Linked DNA regions of Homo sapiens: region 2 is linked to region 1. The links are contacts of gene promoters, found by promoter capture Hi-C in blood cells and fetal thymus (Javierre and others, 2016). All regions are on one chromosome and are shown on one strand. The core of a region is centred on a gene start or on the middle of the fragment in contact, and the rest is flanking DNA. Distances in the headings are between cores, read along the strand shown.

Region 1 (3,567 bases), core at 83-2,582:
AAAGAAAAGAAAGATGCAAACAGCCACAGCCTCGCTTTAAACCCGCCCATCCCCTCGCATTTACAAAACCCCAGTTTCATACTTTGACACACAGTCATGGGGCTCCAGCCTGCCGCCTCGCAGCTCTTCCCTCCTGTGCTGGGCTCCAACCCCACTGCCGCGTCCTTCTTTCTAGACCTAGGAACACTGTGCAGGCCTGTCCGGTCCAGCGGACGGCAGGCGCTCGGTTCTCCACACCCCGCTCTTTAGCCTTCAGGCCTCGGTGCTAACGCCACCTCCTAAGGGGGACCCTCCGGCGCCACCCAGTGTGCCTCTCCCCCACAAGCCTCTTTGGTCTCTTAAAGCAGCCATGCTGCCCTCAGGCTGTAAGTTCTCCAAGGGCCGCGGACGGACGGGGCCACACAGGAGAGCTCACACACAAGTGAGTGAAAGAATAACCAAATTAGGGCCGGGCGCGGTGGCTCACGCCTGTTATCCCAGTACTTTGGGAGGCTGAGGCGGGTGGATCACCTGAGGTCAGGAGTTCGAGACCAGCCTGGCCAACATGGTGAAACCCCGTTTCTACTAAACATACAAATTAAGCTGGGAGTGGTAACGTACAAATTAAGCTGGGAGTGGTGGCGGGCGCCTGTAATCAGCTACTCGGAAGACTGAGGCAGGAGAATCGCTTGAACCCGGGAGGCGGAAGTTGGAAGTTGCAGTGAGCCGAGATTGCGCCATTGCACTCCAGCCTGGGCAACCAAAGCGAAACTCTGTCTCAAAAAAAAATAATAATAATAATAAGCAAATTGAGGAATGAGAGCAGCATCTCAAGGACACAGGTACTGTTTTGGAATTTATTTTAGACCTTTTTTGAAAGTAGGCGTGAACGTAATTGTTTCAGGCACTCTTAAGCGAAGCCAGCCGGCGCCCCGACAGCCGAGGGTGCGGGAGCTCCCCACGGCCCAGCCCCAGCCCCAGACCCCGCTGCCGCGCCTCGGCACGCCCCTGCGCCCCGCCTCCGCGCCTCGGCGCTACTCACGCCCCGCCCTCCGCTCCTCGTCACGCCCCATGTCGCGCCTCCGCGCGACTCACGCCTCTCCCAGTCTCTCGGCACGACCTCGTGCCCCGCCCTCGCCCCTGGCGCAATTTATGCCCCGCCCCGCGCCTCGCCACACCCCGTGCCCCGCCCCCGCTTCTCCGGGCAACTCCTGCTCCAACCCCGCGCCCGACTCATGGCCCTCCCCGCCCCTCGCCACGCCTCGCCTCGCCTTAGCGCTTCGCCCCGCCCCTGTCCTGCCTCTACTTCCGCCTCGGGGGAGCTGGGAGCCCGACGTTTCCGGGAGCGCCGCGTGGTTAGCGTCGGCGGCTTTTGGCATGGCGACTTTTTCTGGCCCGGCTGGGCCAATCCTGTCGCTTAATCCGCAGGAAGATGTCGAGTTTCAAAAGGAGGTGGCGCAGGTTCGCAAGCGCATAACCCAGGTGAGCAGGCACCCTGGCCCAGGCTGCGAGCGGGGGCGATGGACCGGGTCTAGAGGGTATCTGGGGTTGCACGGTTTCCGGCCCGGGCGCCCCTTGCCTTCGTGCTCGCCTTCATTACCTCCAGGGTCTCCCAAGTGGATTCGACCGAATCAGGGACCGACCTCTTAAGCTTGCAGGCCACGGTTTCCGAGACGAAAGGGTTTACGCTGTTCGGTAAATGATGGAGGGGTTTGGCCGCTGAGGCCCTGGAGCCTTCATGTGGAGGGTAACGGGGAAGTATTGGGGTGACAGAAGCAGTAGAAAGAACCAGCTGGAGGGAATAGGCTCCTATACCACAGGTTATCTCCGGGTTAGAGCTGTCACGCTTCCGCGTTTCCCCCAAAAATGGGAGCCCCAGACTTAACACATTCGGGAAGTTTGTATGCCGGGTTGGTGATCTGGGAGTTATTAAAATAGAGTATTTGCCAGGTTCCACTTGCTGACTAGGGCCCCTGACATCGCTTATACTTTCTGTGGTTTTTAGCATAAAATACACAGGAAAACTTAGAAGTTCCTGTTACAGAGGTAAGGCTATGATGACTGAGACGTTGAAAGGCTAATCTGTACCGTGAGAGTTAACAAGCGTATCGAAAATTTTTCGATGAAGTGCGAGTAAACAGTAATATGCATACCAAATTGAAGCCTACGTTTATGTAGAGTTCTCTGGGCAGAAGATCTAAAATGGCTTGTTCAAAGATGTCCTTGCTTATCCGTTGATTGACATAGTTATTGAGCTCTAATATTATACTGGGTGCTGGGATGCCAGGCTGGAAAGATAGTTGACTACTGCTTGACCATGGCCTTTGTGGGGAGAGAAACACTAAACAGCCAGTTCTTTAATTACTACTGTGGTAAGTGGAAATGCAGAATAGGTTCTTGGGCCGAGGGCTAGGGGTTTTGTTACAATGTGATTTTCTTATTTATATATTTAATTTACCTGGTCTTTACGTCTTTAGCGAAAAAAACAAGAACAACTTACTCCTGGAGTAGTCTATGTGCGCCACCTACCTAACCTACTTGACGAAACCCAGATCTTTTCATATTTCTCCCAGTTTGGCACTGTGACACGGTTCAGGCTGTCCAGAAGTAAAAGGGTAAGATTTTTGCAGTTGGATTTAATGTTTTGTTTTTCAAATGTGTATTATCCTTGACATTAAAGAGCACGTTCACGCATACATTATTGCTTATCAGATTTCATTCCAAAAAGGAGAGTGGAGGAGGTTTAGAATCTGAAACAGCTACAGGAGCAAAATCAGTATTATTGTAAAAGTTTGTTTTTTACATTTCTCCAAATCCTTACATTAAATTGACAGTCCTGGTAAATGAGCTTTAGTATGAGGCCCAGGTTTATACATTTTCTTGTGTTAGCCTTTGGTACAAGCATCCTTATAATAGCAAAGGTTTATATAGTGAATAGTTAAAGGTGAGGACTCTGGAGTTGGACTGCTGAGGTTTGGGGTCAGGCTCTACACCTTACTAGTTAGAGTGATATGACCTTACCATGTTTCAGTGTTGTGATCTGTTAAATATAAGTAAAACTTCCTGGGAGTATTTAGTCAAAGGTTAAATATAAAGTCTTTAGAGGATTGCTTGGTACACAATAAACACTATATAAGTATAATTACTATTTGTGTCATACCTGCCTTCTAATGAGAAAACGCTTTACATAGCTTGTTTCAATAGTGGAGGAGTGACCCACTTTCTTTTCTTTCCCCGCACATAAACTTTAATTGGTTGTAGCCATAGACACCTATTTGATTTAGCATGTGGGGGATAGGGTGCACATCCATCATCTGTTAGTTGTCGTAAAGATAGATTGTAGGTAGAATTGAGGTCCCTTTTGTACCCTTCCCAGTGCTCTTCAACTTCTTTAATTAGGGAATTAAATTCACAAATTCAGTTTTCTTTTTTTTGAGACTGAGGCTTGCACTGTCGCCCGGGCTGGAGTGCAGTGGTACAATCTCAGCTCACTGCAACCTCCGCTTCCCGGGTTCAAGCAATTCTCCTTGCGTCACCTTCCCAAGTAGCTGGGATTACAGGCGCCTGCCACCATGCCTGGCTAATTTT
Region 2 (3,355 bases), core at 371-2,870, 2.1 Mb after region 1:
AAGGTGGGAGGGGACTTTGGGGAGGTGGGCAGGGGCTGGACTGCCACAGTCTTGTAAGCTGGAGTGAGGTCCTTGCATGTTATTCTAATGGCAATGGCAGGTCACTGGTGACCTAGATGAGAGCTGATCTGTGAGGTGAGCAGGAATGTTCGAATGGTTGAAGAGAGAATGGGCAGTGAGGAATATGGACCACTCTTCTGGCTGTGAAGAGGAGTAAAGATGGGGTGATGGTTCAAGGTGCACATGGGGTGCAAGGAGGGCTTCGTTTGTTTTGTTTGTTGCCAGAGAGAGGGACCACTGCAGGAAGGTTCTCCATGGGTAGGTAAGAGGGGATGGGTCCGGGGTAGGGAGGAGGAGGGGGGTCAGGAGCACTTCCTCACTGTAACGGGAGGGAAGCTATGGTCAATGGGCCCAGGCTGGTGAAGTCGTGCTGGGAAGAGAGGTTGTCCTTATTGGATGCTGCTTCTTTTTCCCAGTGATCTATGGAGTGAGGTCATCAGGTGAAAGTGCAGTGGGGACAGAGTAGGGAGGGAGTGGTGAAGGTTTGAAGAAAGCAGAAGAGATGTACATTTCTAGGTGAGGAAAAGAAAGACCTTTCTACCAGGAAAATGAAATGATTGTTGTGTACCGTTGAGTGCCCATTTGGGATCTGGGACAAAACCACAACGTTGGTGAGACAAGTTAGTATGGTTGTGTGATTCTTTCCAACAATGTTGGGATGCTCAGGTACAAGAATAAATAGATGGATAGTTGGGTTTAATTAGAGCTGGGTTTGCCAGTCAAGTACAAAGTGGAGAGAAAGGGGCAAGGTTGGTGAGGGTGTTTGCAAAGAAGTGATGACATAGTGATGGACCATGAACTCTCAGCCAGCAGGGAGGACAGTGAGGGCCTGTGGGGTGTCTATTTTACTTAACACCTAAATGTTACACACCATGTGCCCTGTGCTGCTCCTAAGCACTTTGTTCCTAGACACTTTGCAGAAGGAAGAGATAGCGAGATCATTGGCCTGGTGGAACATAAGGAATGTTCTAATGGGGTCACCATAGTAAGCCAGGTAGAAGTATAAGGAGGTGAGTACAGGGTGGGTGGGAGTCTTGAAATGGACCTTTCAGAGGTGGTATCCATTTGGTGATGACAAGGTCAAGGGCATGTCTGCGGGAGCTGCGGTGAGGTGGAAGAGAAGATGATTAAAAGTTAGGGGGTATATTAATCATTTTTATTTTCTATATTTTATGAAGCTTTGACATCTGGGAGGCCTTACTAATCCTGGAAAGACTGCCCCTCCCAGGGCACTGGTTCCTAGTGATGGCGAATGACTCTCCCATGAGCACGCCTTTCATATGCAAACCAACCAATCCACAGCCCATACCCCAACCACCTCTTTTATTTACTTTTCACACTCCAAGTCAGTATTCTCCTGGCTCTAAATATCCCCAGGATTAGGTACTGGACAACTGGAGAATACCCCTATCCTCCACAGCCCACTGAAAGCATCTTAACTACCCAATCCTACGCTTGCTTCAGTGTGACTACCCTGCCTTGCCTATTCCTTCAAAAAACCACAATGAAGCCTCTGGGCCATGCCTTCCCCTGGCTCCTTCTGCCTCCCTCCTGACTGACCTGGTGTTTCCCCAGGTGGGTGGCTCTGTGTGGCATGGTGTGCCTCCCTCCTCTCAGGAACTGCAAGTAATAAACTATTCTTTCAGTGGCATTGGCCACTGGGGAAAGGGGGAGTGGTAAAGATCAGGGATCACACCACAGCACTGAAACAATTCAAGAATGAGAGGAAGCAACCAGGAAGCTGGTAGATAGCAGCAAGGATGGGGGGTACTGGAATGGTCTGGTGGCATGCGTTTCAAAGGAGCTGGGGTATGTATAGGAGGAAATGGCTGTGGGGAGAAAAGGGAACATGCATTCTGCCCTGATTTCAGGGGAATATGGGGAAGAAAGTGACTTCACTGGAGAGGGCTGTGGTGTCCTCAGCAAAGACAGCCAAGCTTTGCGGAGAGCAAGCAAACGAGAGGAGGTGGGGCGGGGGTTTACTGATGATGGACCAAGCCTGCCAAAGTCACAGTGAAACGGCCCTGGGAGGCCTGCAAGGGTGAGTGACCGGGGCTAGATTAGGGGATAAACAGGAAATGAATACATGGATAAGCCCCCAGGAAACCATGGTTGACACAGCATAAGATGGGTTTAAAAAATTTCTTGGGGGGCTTTTGGACATAAAAGGAATACTTAAGAGTTACTAACATTTTCAGTACTGTATTAAAGCAGTAAGTTTGAATACCCTATGTCTCTTAAACCTAAAGTGCCAATTTACAAATATTGTCATCTTATTAATAAGTCCAGTAATTTTTGTATAAAAAATGAGATTTTTTTCTACTTGTCTTTGATTAACATTCAGTTAATTCCTAGGGTTTACAGATTAAATCTTTCTTAATTATACTGTACCACTTCTGTACTTAATTGATCAAATTTCCTTAGACATTTCAAACCACACTTTCAAATTTAATTTAGCTGATTCTCTTAAATATGTTAACCTGCTGTATTAGTCAGGGTTCTCCAGAGAAACAGAACCAGTAGAATATGTGTGCATGCACACGGGTGTGTGTGTGTGAGTGTGTGTGTGTGCGTGCAAATGTTTATTTAAAGAGACATTATAAGGAATTGGCTCATGCAATTATGGACACTGAGAAGACTCAAGATTTGCAGCTGGCAAGCTGGAAACCCAAGAGGGCTGATGGTGTAGTTCCAGTCTGAGTCCAAAGTGCTAAAAAGGCAGGAGAGCCAAGGCTGAGGCTGAGTCAGAAGGCAGGAGAAGACTGATGTCCCAGTTCTAAGACAGTCAGGCAGAGCAGGAGAATTCCTTCTCACTGTGCCTTTGGTTCTATTCTGGCCTTCAATGGACTGGAGGAGGTGCACCTACACTGGGGAAGGCAACCTGCTTTGCACAGTCCACCAATTCAAATGTTAACCTCATCCAAAACACCCTCACAGTCATGCTCAGAATGTTTAACCAAATATTTGGGTGTCTCTTGGCCCAGTCAAGTTGACACATAAAACTAGCCATCAAGTCTCCCACAGAAAGTAGTGTTTCAAATTTAATAAGTAAAATCTTCCTAAGCCTTAAAGCAACTCTCAAAAATCCAAAAAAAAAAAAAAAAATAGACACAGAAATGTAACAGTTAAGATTCTCTCTCTCTCTCTCTTTTTTTTTTTTTTTGAGGCAGGGTCTTGCTTTGTCACCTAGGCTAGAGTGCAGTTGGCACTAAGACAGCTCACTACAGCCTTGACCTCCTAGGCTCCAGGGATCCTCCACTTCAGCCTCCTGACTACAGACACCTGCTACCATACC

What was found. The method cuts DNA at HindIII sites, captures the fragments that hold promoters and counts their contacts. A CHiCAGO score of 5 or more calls a contact.
Region 2: a contact is called between a fragment that was not itself captured here and the fragment with the promoter of NIFK in region 1, in 1 of 17 cell types (naive CD8 T cells). The highest score is 5.5, in naive CD8 T cells.

Annotation. Positions count from the first base shown.
Region 1 is chr2:121,734,640-121,738,206 of GRCh38, reverse strand. NIFK (nucleolar protein interacting with the FHA domain of MKI67) reads left to right here and starts at 1,332. Exons shown (of 7, transcript NM_032390.5): 1 at 1,332-1,461; 2 at 2,457-2,594. The coding sequence starts at 1,357. RefSeq lists a silencer at 846-1,295 and an enhancer at 1,396-1,445. The HindIII fragment of the contact is 3,379 bases long and covers 1-1,632 here.
Region 2 is chr2:119,670,646-119,674,000 of GRCh38, reverse strand. No RefSeq gene overlaps it. Among named protein-coding and RNA genes, the nearest start is that of TMEM177, 6.9 kb to the left of the region's middle. The HindIII fragment of the contact is 759 bases long and covers 1,241-1,999 here.